4 separate regions of the Homo sapiens genome follow, and all the other regions are linked to region 1. The links are contacts of gene promoters, found by promoter capture Hi-C in blood cells and fetal thymus (Javierre and others, 2016). All regions are on one chromosome and are shown on one strand. The core of a region is centred on a gene start or on the middle of the fragment in contact, and the rest is flanking DNA. Distances in the headings are between cores, read along the strand shown. Region 1 holds the start of FLJ42393 (a long non-coding RNA gene). Region 2 has its middle 13 kb from the start of TPRG1-AS1. Region 3 overlaps LPP (LIM domain containing preferred translocation partner in lipoma). Region 4 overlaps LPP (LIM domain containing preferred translocation partner in lipoma).

The links. The method cuts DNA at HindIII sites, captures the fragments that hold promoters and counts their contacts. A CHiCAGO score of 5 or more calls a contact.
Region 2: a contact is called between a fragment that was not itself captured here and the fragment with the promoter of FLJ42393 in region 1, in 1 of 17 cell types (M0 macrophages). The highest score is 5.2, in M0 macrophages.
Region 3: a contact is called between a fragment that was not itself captured here and the fragment with the promoter of FLJ42393 in region 1, in 1 of 17 cell types (naive B cells). The highest score is 5.1, in naive B cells.
Region 4: a fragment that was not itself captured here is called in contact with the fragment with the promoter of FLJ42393 in region 1 in 3 of 17 cell types (naive B cells, neutrophils and total B cells); the score reaches 6.0 in naive B cells.

The regions. Positions count from the first base shown.
Region 1 is chr3:188,176,751-188,180,074 of GRCh38, forward strand. FLJ42393 (a long non-coding RNA gene) reads left to right here and starts at 1,793. Exons shown (of 1, transcript NR_024413.1): 1 at 1,793-3,324. The region is part of intron 1 of LPP (LIM domain containing preferred translocation partner in lipoma); the gene reads left to right. RefSeq lists an enhancer at 2,557-3,169. The HindIII fragment of the contact is 11,595 bases long and covers 1-3,324 here.
Region 2 is chr3:188,958,509-188,961,832 of GRCh38, forward strand. No RefSeq gene overlaps it. Among named protein-coding and RNA genes, the nearest start is that of TPRG1-AS1, 13 kb to the left of the region's middle. The HindIII fragment of the contact is 1,246 bases long and covers 1,087-2,332 here.
Region 3 is chr3:188,758,309-188,761,632 of GRCh38, forward strand. It overlaps LPP (LIM domain containing preferred translocation partner in lipoma), which reads left to right. Exons shown (of 12, transcript NM_001375462.1): 9 at 1,805-1,974. Among named protein-coding and RNA genes, the nearest start is that of MIR28, 71 kb to the left of the region's middle. The HindIII fragment of the contact is 1,402 bases long and covers 909-2,310 here.
Region 4 is chr3:188,728,420-188,731,743 of GRCh38, forward strand. All of the region lies in intron 8 of LPP (LIM domain containing preferred translocation partner in lipoma), which reads left to right. Among named protein-coding and RNA genes, the nearest start is that of MIR28, 41 kb to the left of the region's middle. The HindIII fragment of the contact is 2,886 bases long and covers 105-2,990 here.

The sequences.
Region 1 (3,324 bases), core at 543-3,042:
GAACATATACCTGGCCCTTAGTGTACACATTACTAAAGAGAATAAGATGTGGTCTGCACCCTCTCATGCACCAGTGGCTTCTTGAGCAGTATGATAGAGAGAGACAGCTGAGATTTAGTGGAAAAACACAAGGCTTAGAATTGGGAGAGCTGGGTTCAAGCCCCAGCTTTGCCACTAAATGGCTGTGTAGTCTTGAACAAGTCACCTGCCCTCTCTGAGCTATAATTTGAAATAGACTTAGCTTAAGCAACAGGAAAGCAGTAATGAGCTAGAGGAAGGATAGAAATTGGGAAGAAGTATAAATCTGCTTAGGAGATGGCAAGTTTGGGGCTGAGGTGGAATTGATCTGAGGGAGAGACCTGGTAGAAAGAGCTAGGCAGTATGAGGCTGAGTGTCTGAAGGGGTAGCAGGCCTGGGGGTGGTCCAGTGATGGTTGAATGGGTGGGCCAGCCCAGCGAGGGGATCGCCTGCAATCCAGTAGAGATGCCCTCATTTTCATGGCAGGGTCCCCCTGTGCCAGTAGACAGACCCAGGCCTGGGAAGGAGGGCTGGTTGAAGTGAGATGGATACCAGTCTTGGAGCATGGTTGGAGAATCTGTCCAGGGTGATGGCATCTGTTTTGGATTGGGGCCTTGAGGCACATTTTCAGTTCTGCTCCCTGGACCAGCATAGGAGGGTGGCAGACAGTACAGTGATTTGAATACAGGATTGATCCTGCCACCTTGATTTCTGCCTTTATTTAGCGGCAAAGACACTAGATCAGAAAAGTACTGGATGTGATTGCTGTAGTCTTTCATGATTGATTTAGGAGCTGGGAGAGGCCTGGCTAGGAGTTGGAGGATCCCTGGGAAGATGAAGATTAGGTCTTACGTGAGCCTCAGCCCTCTCCTCTGTAAAATGGGAGTAATGATGGTAATTATGCTGATGTTACCTATTCTGACTGGAGTAAGGATTAAAGTACTTGTCTGGAGGAAGGCACTTCATGGTTAAAACATGAAAAGAGAAGTGCACAGTGTTTTTATTACAGGGAAACACCAAAGAGCTGGAAAGGAATGAGGGCTGGAGAGATGGAGCTGCCCTGAGGACTCTGGGAGGTCATCCTGGGGGCAGAACTTTGACAGTTGCTGCCCGAGGTGGGACAGGGATGCTGGGAAGATGTGACGATGTGCATAAGTGTGTCATGTTCAAGATGGTTCTAAGCCCTGGCCAATTCCATACATGCTCTTTTCCTTTCTCATCCATAGAGGTTTTGGCAAAGGCATACTTGGGAGTGTTGATATAGCTGACACTGCAGCACCCTCAGTTTACAGGTGTGAGAAGAGTGAGGCTCCCACAGTCTCACTTGGACAGGTAGTCAGGGCTCTGATGGAGCTCCTGGAGTTTCTAGGTTCTCTGTCACTTGATAGTCAGTGCTGGGAGGGACCTCAGGGAATCAGCCAATTTCACAGATGGGGAGAGTGAGGCAGGTTGGGAATTCTGGCCCCAGTGGAGGGCACCACATGCCCACAGGGAAATGTCTTTCCCAGCCCCCTCCTCATGCTTCTCCTCTTTTCTGTCTGGAAGTCCTAGTTCTCCTCCTCACGCTGAGACCCAGGTAGGGTGATTGTCCATGTTTCTTCATTTATCTGTTTTTTTTCTGTTGCCCAGGGACTACTCTAAGCACCATGCTGGTTGCTGACTGTTCGCTTTTGCAAGATCTTGGAATCTCTGTTTGTTCACATCACAACTCAAGAGGATACGTTCTCATTCTCCCAATGTTTGTCTTCTGCCCATTGCATCAAATTGCTCTTCCTTGTTTGGAATTAAACTTCTAGCAATCATTTACCTTTATGGTTCTCTTAACTTCAGGTCACACTGTTGTTTAGTCAATGTGAGAATCTTTCAGATGTTCTGCACTTTGCAAAAGGATATTCACAGCCAATGTGTGCGGCAGTGAAGGACACTTGTTGATTCCTTATTTATTGTCTGCTGTTCCAGGGACCGGGGACTAGAGGTGAATAAAGCCTTGTTTGGGCTGTCTAGGATGTTGTGATCGACACAGGAAACAGACATGAAAGCCAAATTGGCGCAGTGGGTGAAGTATTGTAATACTGGTCTCTGTTTATGATATATGGAAGAAGTTTCCTAGTAGCAGGGTGGGTGAGAGAGTCCATCATCATTGCAGATTGGTGCCTCTGTGGACATGCAGGTATATTAGGCCAGAGGTGGGGAGTGGGAGAGAGAGGGAGAGAGAGAGCACGACAAAGAGAGAGAGAGAGAGTGAGCAAGAGAGAGGGAGGGAGAGAGACAGAGAGAGAGAGAGAGAGAGAGAGAGAGTGAGCAAGAGAGAGGGAGGGAGAGAGACAGAGAGAGAGAGAGAGAGAGAGGTTTTGAGAGCATTGATATGGGGTCTACATATTCCCCCCGGCCCCCATTCCCTATTATCATAGAAGCATGCTGCCCTCCAAGGCTTTTGAATTTGCCACCGTGAAGAGCATGCATGGAATCTTCGGCTGTGGCCTTGCATTGCCCCCTGTCTTCGCAGCGGAGCTTCTTTATCTGACCCGTGCATGTGCCTCTGATGAGCAGCCCTTCATCACAGCTCTGCGGCCTCCTCCTAGGCCCCCGCCTTCAGCTCTCCAGTTCATTTCCCGCCTTGTTCCCATTGCCACCTGCGGGCTTGGAGGGCCACCTGACATTCTGTCCTTTGGGTCCCCTGTGACTCCAGAGCTCCTTCCCTTCTGGGGCGCCCACATCTGCGACACGCTTGTTTGCCCAGTGCATTTTCTACACTTAGAGTTCCTCTCGTGCTCTCATATTTCCATTTAAAGCCCTCTCGAGAGGTCTGTCTCCTGCCAGCAGCATTCCTTCTAGTTTACTAGAACTCCATTTCTCATCCTGCCAGGAATCCAGCCGTGGAGTGAGCTTCAGCAAGCCTCTCTGCAGTCTCTTGTCTGCTCCAAAACTGTGGCCTCTGGTTGTGAGAAATGGGCATCCTGAGTCAGTGAGAGCAGTAGTTAGCTTGCAGCAGCTTCCCCTCTCCCCCTGAGTGAGCCTTTCTTCCTCTTCCTCCTCTTTCATTCAGCCTCATCCTGCCTTGGGTCCATTTGACAGATAATGGCACCTTGAGGCCTTGTCTTTTGCATGGCATCTGTGCCTGACTGGTCAGAAATTACTTGTGAAGCAACATAGGGGGTTGTTGGTTGGGTCCACTTTTAGGATGAAGTCAGAAGGGATCGTGAGTGATGCTTGGCCAATAAGAATGTATTGATTTGATTTACTAATTAATTTCATTTCCAGACACCAATATATGCATAGCCTTGTTTGAAGAAAATTAAGGAGAAC
Region 2 (3,324 bases), core at 460-2,959, 780 kb after region 1:
TCGTTGTAGCCTTGTCTTCTGGGGAATGCATGTTATAGAAATAATATGCTGTGCAAAGATGTTCATTGCAGCATTATGTGTAATAGCAAATACACTAGAAGCAACTTAAATATTTAGCAACAAGGTAATCATTTTATTGTGATATTTTAGCCAAATACACTAGAAGCAACTTAAATATTTAGCAACAAGGTAATCATTTTATTGTGATATTTTGGCCAAGTATCATTTGGTGGTTATTGCTCGTCACTCATGTAGTAATTACAATGACTCTGTTGGAATGAAGGAAAAAAGTCCAAAAAAATAAGAACAGGCCAGACTTTGTTTTTGGAATTAGAAATGAACCTTGAAAATTTCATAGTCAAATTCTGTAATTCTAAAATATAACTATTATCAATAAGGAAAATTGTTCATGATAGTATTTTAAGTGAAGAAAGAAAAATACAAAATGGAATGAACTTCACAATTACCAACTTTGTAAATAAAGGTATGAAATGTATGAACGGGGAAAGATTTAAGGCTTTACCTTTTGCTAATTTTTCTTTTCTGTTTTATTCTTTCGATGATTGTAAAACCCCACATTATGCAATAATTCACCAGTTTTTCAACACTGGCATCCTGGGAGGCCTTGAGGTGCCTGGGATTTGACTTAAAGTTGGCTAGAACCACAGGATCACCCCTCTAGAGGAGTGAGGATTAGGCAAGAGCTCACTCAATTATAGGTGGACTGGGTTGGAAAGTACCTTTGAGATCATTAAGATGAATTATACCACTTAAAAGCAATTTGATCTTGAATAAGTTACTTGTCTTTGCTAAACCTCAGTTTCCTTACCTGAAAAGTGGCATAATAAAAGTATCTGTGCCTGAGTTTTGTGGTGAGGTTTAAATGATATAAATGCAGTAGATGGCACAGAGTAAGCTCTCAGTACATGTTAGTTATTGATATCACAGAAGCCAGTGGTTGAGCCAGGGCCAGAATTCACTTTTTTCAACTTCCTTACTGGGGCTTTTTCTGTCACACTATGTCATAGATCTTTCATCTTTACCCAGACTAAAATCCTTTGCTTTCGTGAGCACCGGGTAAGAGAAAGCTTATTCCGATAATACTGAGGATACTGTGACTTTACATAACTCTTGTCTATCAGGTGACCAATAGCATACACTATAGTCAGAACTACCTGTTAAAATGGCCAGAGATATCATAAGGAAAGGGTGCCTACTGAACTGAAAGCATGCCTTAAATAAGACAGAACTGGGCTCAACTTCTACAACAGTGTATGTCCTGCTCGAGTTCTTATTCTGCATTTGTTTTTATGAGCCTCAGTTTTCTTATTGGATAAATGAAAATCATTCTTCTTATACGGATGAAATATGAGTTGCCACATGTAAAATGCAATGCAATTCAAAGTAGTGATTTTTAAAAATTATTTTATTAAAAAAGTTATATTGTATGTTTTATGTGCTAGGCATTATTCCAAGGGATTTATAACAATTAATTCATTGAATGGATTCCTTATAGCAATTCTATGAGGCAGGTACTATCATTATTGTTGCTTTACTCAGGGAGGCACAGGAATGTTGAGTAACTTATCCAACATCACAGAAGTTGTGAGTGGTGGAGCTGAGGTTTGAACCTAGACATTCTGGCCACAGAATCCATGCACAGCCCTCATGCTGCCTTATTATCACTGAAACAGCTTTGGCCTAAGAGAAACCAAAGTCAAATATAAATTCTAGAATCTGTTCTTCTTTCTTACAAGGTCCCATTCAGTTTAGTTCAGTCCCATCCACGGCAATCTGATTCACTCCAATTCATTTCAGTTTAATTCATTTCAGCTCAAGAAATATTTTTTTGAATGTTTAGTTTGCATCAATAGCCACTGTGTTTGGCATTGTGAGGGAGGAGTAGGACCCAAGAAACTTGCAATTTGATGGGGAAGCATAAATCACATATAAAAATGATGGTGAAATATGCAGTGGAGAAGGCAGTTTCAAGAAAGAACTTCAAATCTGGAACTGTGAGGATCAGGGTCAGCGTGCTTTATCAAGTTTCTCCTCTCTACTGCTCATTGAATGAAAACTGACCCATTCGTGGGGTCAGACAGGGTCTCCTGGAACCACAGAGTGTGGGTAGAGGACAAGTTGAAACATAGGTACTCTGGACTCCTGAAAAGCAGAGGATCTTAGACTGGGCTTATGTCTTCAACAGTGAGACCATTGCCCTCTGTCTAGTTCCAGCCGGAGTGGCTGACAGCCTCCGGCTGCCATTTTAAGCTAAGATGAAGCCATTTCAGTGGCCTGGTATATATGATTCTTCGTTCTCCCTCTCTTACTAAGCTTTTCGAGGAAAATCTGCCTATTGATGTGGGATTTTCTATTTTTTGATTATTAAAGGAGGCAGTTTATATACAACATCTTGCACAGGTCCGACCCATCGTTAGTGCATGTAAGGGGGCAAATGTTACCCTAAACCTTTGTAATCTGACCACATCCCCTAGTCAAATGGCTCACAAGCCTGACTGTGTATGACAGTCATTTTCCTCTTTTAGGGAGCTCTATATTCCTGTTCCAGGATGAAAACCGGGAAAACCCAGCCAAAGCATCTAAGATCATGCTCTTGCTTGTTTAGTGGCCACACTGCATGGAATTTGAGTATTCCCCATGGGTAAACTGCTCCCTTACACAACACCTTTGACGTTACACTATTAAAAAGGCTTGCATATTAAAATTTGAGGCATGTGTAAATACCTCATAATTAACTGCTGTCTATTTAACCAGACAGCTCTAGCAAGTTAATTTGATGTCTGTTATGAGACTTAATAATTGTCAGTGATTTTTTTAAACAATTTACTGGTATAATCATTAACTACTCCTAGATTATCTTGTCAAATTGATAATTAAATGGCTCAAAAATTCATTACAGAGTTAGTATATTAATGGGAATGTAATTAAATAATGTTTGCTTATGTAATCTAGAGTTTATTACCTGTACACTTATTTATTTTTTCTATACTTTATTAAATCTTCTAGAGGCCTTTTCAAAATTGATAGAAAACCAAGAGTCAATAAATGTCTTATTAGATCCAAATAAGCCACTTAATCGAGATACTGAAATAAATATGGATTCTCCATATATGTGGAGAGGTAGGAGAAATCATTACTATCTCATATAGGATTATCTTTGGGAAAATAAAGTTCCTTTCCTTCCTTGTTCTGTTTCCTCCTGCTTCCCTTCTCCCTCCCTTCCTTCCATCCTTCCTTCCTTTCTTTCTTCCCCTCTCCTCTCTCTCCTTCTTTCTTTCTCTCCCTTCCACCTTCCATTTCTTT
Region 3 (3,324 bases), core at 360-2,859, 580 kb after region 1:
CACCACCACGCCCAGCTATTTTTTGTATTTTTCATAGAGATGGGGTTTCACCATGTTGACCAGGCTGGTCTTGAACTCCTGACCTCAGGTGATCCACCCACCTCGGCCTCCCAAAGTGCTGGGATTGAAGACATGAGCCACTGCACCCAGCCTTCATATTTCTTATTCCTTAGGAAAAAAACTAAGATGTATACTTTGGGTTATATTTAAAGTCACATTCAAATCCCACAACAGGATATAAAGAAATACTTTTCAGGGCCAAATACAACTGGAGAGGATTAGAAATAAATTTACCTTTTTTTCTCTCACGTTGAAACATCTAGCCCTCCCATGTTTGAGTGTGAAATGGCTGTCAATCCAATGTGATGGAGTGCTGAAAGCCGTCTTCAGTGAGAAGTCTCTCCATAATGCTCCCTAACATCAGATCCATGTTAATCCTGATGCACAGAACTGGGAATAGGTAATATAGCATAGTGTTTAAGAGCACAGATGCTGAAGTTAGACTGCTTAGGCTGGAATTTAGTTAACCATTTGTGTGACTCAGTTTCCTCATCTGTGAAATAGGCATAATAACAGTACCTGCATATAGACTGTTGTGAATATGAAATGAGTTAATATATCTAAAGCCCCTAGAAAAAGTCTGACATATGTGAAGCACTACATTTGCTATACCTTATCTATCAAAGCCTACAGCTTCTGGCTAACATTCCCAGTGTTCTATAATTATTAGATAGAATTTTTTTTAACTTAGTAGAAACAAAGACTAAGAAGGGAAACTAGATGTGGACGTGACGTCTAGCTCAAGATTCCCATGATGGAGCCACATAGAGATATGGATGGCAACCAGCATAATGCCTCTCACTGACATAACTATTTGTCTGAATTTATATTTTATTGTTATTATTTAAAGCTTACTGCAAATTTTAAAAACTGAAACCTGATGTCCATATGTAGGCCAGATGCCACATTAATCAATTTAAGAATGCTGGAGCTTCGCAGAATACTGCATGAACAACGAGAACCGTGGCCCTGAAAGACTCAAAACCCTACAGTATATGAAACTATTGCAGGATGTGTGGATGTTCAAAGGAATAACAGACTTGGAAGCAATGCTTACTGAATTTTGATGTATTAAAGGATGTCAAGTCCAAGAGAGAGATAAGGTCTCAGAAGACAGAACTAGAACCATGGGGTAAGCAGTTAGAATGAGGAAGCACTATGGCTCAGTAGGAGAAAGAACCTTTTAGCCATCAAAGCGATCTAGAAATTAAAGGACTGCCTTGGGATCTGCCTGTCACTGAGAGCTGGCTGCAGAGGTTTTACAATCAGGGCTTTTGTAAAAGGAACTAAAATTTGAGTTTGGACCCAATTATCTTACATTCTAACTGGATGTGTAGAATCTCCAAGAAGAAAGACTCTTCTGTACTGTTTTATAGATTTTGCCTTCCACTCCAAACATCCTGAGTCATGTTCCTTTTATACTTGCATGTGAGATGAGAGTCAGAGCACTGACCTCAAAGCCAGCGACCGGGTTCTACTGTTCCTTTCTGCAAGAACTTAGACTATGAGACTCAATCCCCTCAACCGATTAATGTAAAATCCCCTCCATGCCAATCTTGCAGAGGATAGGGGTGGCTGTACTGGTGATCTTGCTGGGGTAATGGGGTAATAGTACTGGGGTAATGACGGCAGGAGTGGTGGTTCTATTGCTGCTGACGTTATGAACCTGCTTTCTCCTCCACTTTGGCTTTAGCAGGACTGAAGTACTCCTTGGTGTGTTCTTATCAAACCCTTTTTTTTCCAGGCCGCTGTGCTCGCTGTGGAGAAAACGTAGTTGGGGAAGGTACAGGATGCACTGCCATGGATCAGGTCTTCCACGTGGATTGTTTTACCTGCATCATCTGCAACAACAAGCTCCGAGGGCAGCCATTCTATGCTGTGGAAAAGAAAGCATACTGCGAGCCCTGCTACATTGTAAGTTCCAGATTTGTTCCTCAAGCACTTTGCAAAGATGTCTTCTGTGGCTGAATGCCAGTCACTCTAGATAGAATATAGCCATCAGATCTTTGCTTCTTCCTAGACTTCAAAATGTGTGTGTGGGGTGTGTGTGTGTGTGTGTGTGTGTGTGCGTGCGCGCATGTAAATTAGCATATTGTAATTTTTTTCTACACATCCCCCATTCATAAGCAGTCAGAAAGGTGTATTAGCATGGGACTGCCATTCAGTTAGTGGTCTGCTGGGAAGATCATCAGCCTGTGGCTTTCTAGCATGTATGTACAAGCTAAAATTTTCTTTCTTAAAGCATCAGAAAGCTTTCCAAGTAGCTGAGTCACACCTCTTATAAGATCTCACCCTACATTTGAAGTGCCCAGTAGTTTCAAGGAAACTTTACAGAATCTCTGGACTTGTCAGTCCTCTTCCAGAATACTGGGCCCTTTGAGTCCATTTTTATCTACCAAAATGTTTCTTCCCCCTCTTATCCAACAGGTTTTTAATGATGCAAACAGGGGAACTGTTTATTATAAAGCACCTTAAAGAGAAATGAACAGTAATGCTGACTGAGCTAATCATTGTTTTCTTTTATTACAGAACACAAAAACTATATTTTAATAATATACCTGGGTAACTAAAAAATTCTCAGTCATGTTACCTTAGCGTTTTACAATGCTACTTACTTAATCTACCTGTTAAACTATTCTCTGGTAGAGTAATTTGATGAATGAACACAGACTTTTTTCATCTATTGTAAATTTCTTTGCTATCCTTCAGCATGATTTTAATCTTTGTTTAACACATGTTGATGGGAAAAGTAGTGTTTTTTGTTTGTTTGTTATGTAAACCCACAAAACAGTCATGGTTTGTCCCTCAGTGCCCAGAGATTTCAACATAAAAGACACCTTGGTTTCTTTACCAAGGTATTGGGAGTCATACTTGGCTTTACAAGGTTCACATTTATTGAAGACGTTTTTGGCCTGGTTGGTATTTTCCTATAACTTGGCAGCTCTAACCCATTGTAACCTTGGGGTCTGTAGCACAGATCTGAAAGTTCATCAAGATTAAGGCTTCGTAGGATTAAATATGGCTTTGCATCTGTCTTAGGTTCAATTTTATTTCGTTTTCTTTCCAAAGGTAACTTAATACATGTAACATCATTTCTTTCCAAAGGTAGCTTAAACACATGTAGAGCCATACAGTGGTAGAGTTGGAAAAAAAATCTTAAAATCATTTGCGTAATTACTCTCTTTAGCAATGAGAATGCCAAGACATACAGAAGAGGAAAGCGACTTCGTATGACCTATCATTAGTGTCAGAACCAAGGCTGCA
Region 4 (3,324 bases), core at 298-2,797, 550 kb after region 1:
TGTAGAATGCACTATGTTATTTGATGGTTCTGGAGTAATACAAAAGAAGAGAGTGATTAATTTGCCTGGGATCCTACAACAAACCAGTTGACCAAGAGATAATAAGCTTATTATATTATGCAGATCTATACCTATTCACTTCGTTTAGTTAAGAAACAGCTCATCAATATGGAATACACATTTTCATAGTAGATTTGTGGGTTGCATAGCTTTTTTGTGTCTGTTTTCAATTTCTGTTCCTTTGATAACTGAACAAATAACAGAGATGGTGAAACCCAGCAAGCAAATTATCTTCCAGATTTTATGTGATCTCCCTTCTCTAGTGAGTTGGTATGTCTACTAATGACACAGTAGATTATAAGGTTATTTGGTTTAAGTAAATATTTATGCAGAGCCTATGATATGTCCATCTCTGTCTTAGGTGGGGTGAATTAGAATTACTATAAGTGCTTTCTGAAAAAAAAAAAAATGTACCATGAACAAATTTAGAGGTCTCTGCCCCCAAGAAGTCCATAGACCATTATAGGTTAGAGAATAAAAAATATATGATAATCCCTTTTCCCATGTGATAAATGTTATAAAGGAGCTCTGTACCTATGATTATGAGAGGGAATGTTTGAGAGCTCTAGGAAAAACCTCCCTAGGGAGATTAAGAGGTGATATCTGATGTCTTCATGAAGGAATAAAATGTTTCCAAGTAGAGAAAGAGAAGAAAGATGTTAGATACAGAAGAAACAGCATGTACAAAGGTATAGAGGTAGGAAAACATGGTATTCTGGGAACAGGAAGATGTTACTTCCTAACAGAACTTCTCTGTGGCTGAAGCCACATTGAGTTGAGGGACAAGTAGTGGGACAAGGAAGGATAGAGAGTCTGGAGTTCAGTGATAAAAGATCTTGTGTGATAGTCATAGGAAGGATGTTTTGGATGTTTACCTGTGCAAAATGGGAAATTGTTGACTATTGTCAAACAATGGGTAACATCAGATTAGTGATTTATGTAAAACTGAAGGGATAACCATTTCTACTGCTGTATACCACTTGGATAACCTTATAAAGCCACTTAATAGGGAATAATGGGGCTGGAAATTTAATGGGAATAGATTTAAAGTGCTTGTGGGATAAGAAACATGATATTGCTCTCTTTTGTTCTCTTTCAGTTCAAAACAGGAAGTGCCTAGGTATGCAGAAATGCAAATCAAGCCAGCTATATTTTTGGTGTGTTTTGTGTGTGTTTAGATTTTCACACATCAGCAATACTGTAAGAACACTATGTGGCCAGGCACAGTGGCTCACGCTTATAATCCCAGCCCTTTGGGAGGCCAAGGTGGGAGGATTGCTTGAGCCCTGGGAGTTCAAGACCAGCCTGGGCAACATAGTAAGACCCTGTCTGTACAAAAAGTGAAAAAAAAAAAAAATGGATGGGCATGATGGCATATGCTGTGGTTCCAGCTAATCTGGACGTGGAGGTGGGAGGAGGATCACTTAAGTTCAGGAATTTTTGGTGGCTGCAGTGAGCTGTGACCATGCCACTGCACTCCAGCTTGGGCAACAGAGCCAGACCCTGTCTCCAAAAAAAGAATACTATTATGTGAATAATCCACCAGATTCAACTAAAAAATGGCCATGATGTTTTAAAAGTACATATATACACACATATAGATTTAAAGATTACTTTCAACTTTCTAAGAAATTAGTAGATCTTTAGAAAATCATTGTGCGTATGTGCATATGTGCATTGTTTGTGCTGGTCCCACCTTCAAGGAGAAAATATTTCAAGATCCTGATGCTTACTTAAGAGGTTGTATGTGTTTACCATGGAAAGGACCTTGGAAATCATCTCCTAATTCTGACTTCATTATTTATTTATTTTGATGAAGCAAATGGTGCCCAGATTGAAACAGGAGTGTAAGCCACAGCCACCAAGTGCCAGTGCCCAGGCTAACACTTTTCTCCATTAACTCTGGAAACCTTATTTCCTTTTTGTACCACGTATTTACAGTGTTTGGTAGTTATGAATTGAGTGAATTATCCCAAGGTTGGAGATATCTTGGTACTCACTTGTAAGTGGAGAAACACTAATAGGAAAATATTCTGGGAATCTGGTAAGGAAGTATGAGTGAATTTATCATATTTAACCTTTGTTCAAATACATTAAGCCCTTTCTTCCCTTTGTCATTCTCAAACTGGATCGACATGATAGGAGGAGAAATTTTATCAACTAAAAGGGGTTGTGTCAATAAGTGTTTATGATACCTCTAAACTTAGGCCTTAAAACAACACAATCTGTGATCTGACAGTTCTGTAGGTTAGATGTTCAACATGAGTCTCATCTGGCTAAAACCATCATGTTAGCAAAGCTGCATTTGTCTCTGAAGGTTCTTTCTAGGGGAGAATCCCCCTTGCTTTTTCTGACTTCTAAAAACTGACCACATTCCTTGACTTGTGGCCCTCTTTTTCCATCCTCAAAGCCTGTAACATAGCACCTCTGACCATTTTTTTCATAGTCATTCTGTGTCTGGCCCCAGCTGGGAAAAGTTCTCCAATTGGTAAGGACCTACTTGATTAGATATGACCCACCTGAATAACCTCACATACTCTTCCTATCTCAAAACTCTTAACTTAATCCTATCTGCAAAGTCCGTTTTGTCATATACAGTAGCATGTTCATAGGTTTCAAGCATTTGGACATGGTCCTCTTTGGGAGGCATTACGCTGCCTGTGACAGTGCTCTTCTGATACATTTTCAGTGATCTTCTAGACATAACAATCCTGGTCCTGGGAACATGCATGGCGGGGACCTAAATAAGTCTATTTTTTAAGAGGCCCTACCCTTTGCATAGATTCTAATCTTGGGGTAAAGGAAAGTTTGAGATTTCACTCCACCTTTTTTTTTGGTGCTGGTATTTCCACTGTGGGAAAGATCATTCGGATTTAACAACCACATGAAGCTCCTGGATTATCTGGGGCATGTTTGCTGATTCCCAAGGAAGCTTGATCTTTTTGATGGAGCACTTGAGCTGGTAAGTTATTAGAAGCTGAGCTATAATTTTCCTTGGCATTGGTCATTTTTGTCTAATCTTTTATTTTTTTGTTTTTTTTGTTTTGTTTTGTTTTGTTTTGAGATGGAGTCTCACTGTGTCCCCCAGGCTGGAGTGCAGTGGTGCGATCTCGGCTCACTGCAACCTCCGCCTCCTGGGTTCAAGCAATTCTCCTCCCTAAGCCTTCAGAGTAGCTGGGACTACAGGCGTGCACCACCATGCCCGGGTAACTTTTTGTATTTTCAGTAGAGACAGGGTTTCACCATGCTGGCCAGGCTGATCTC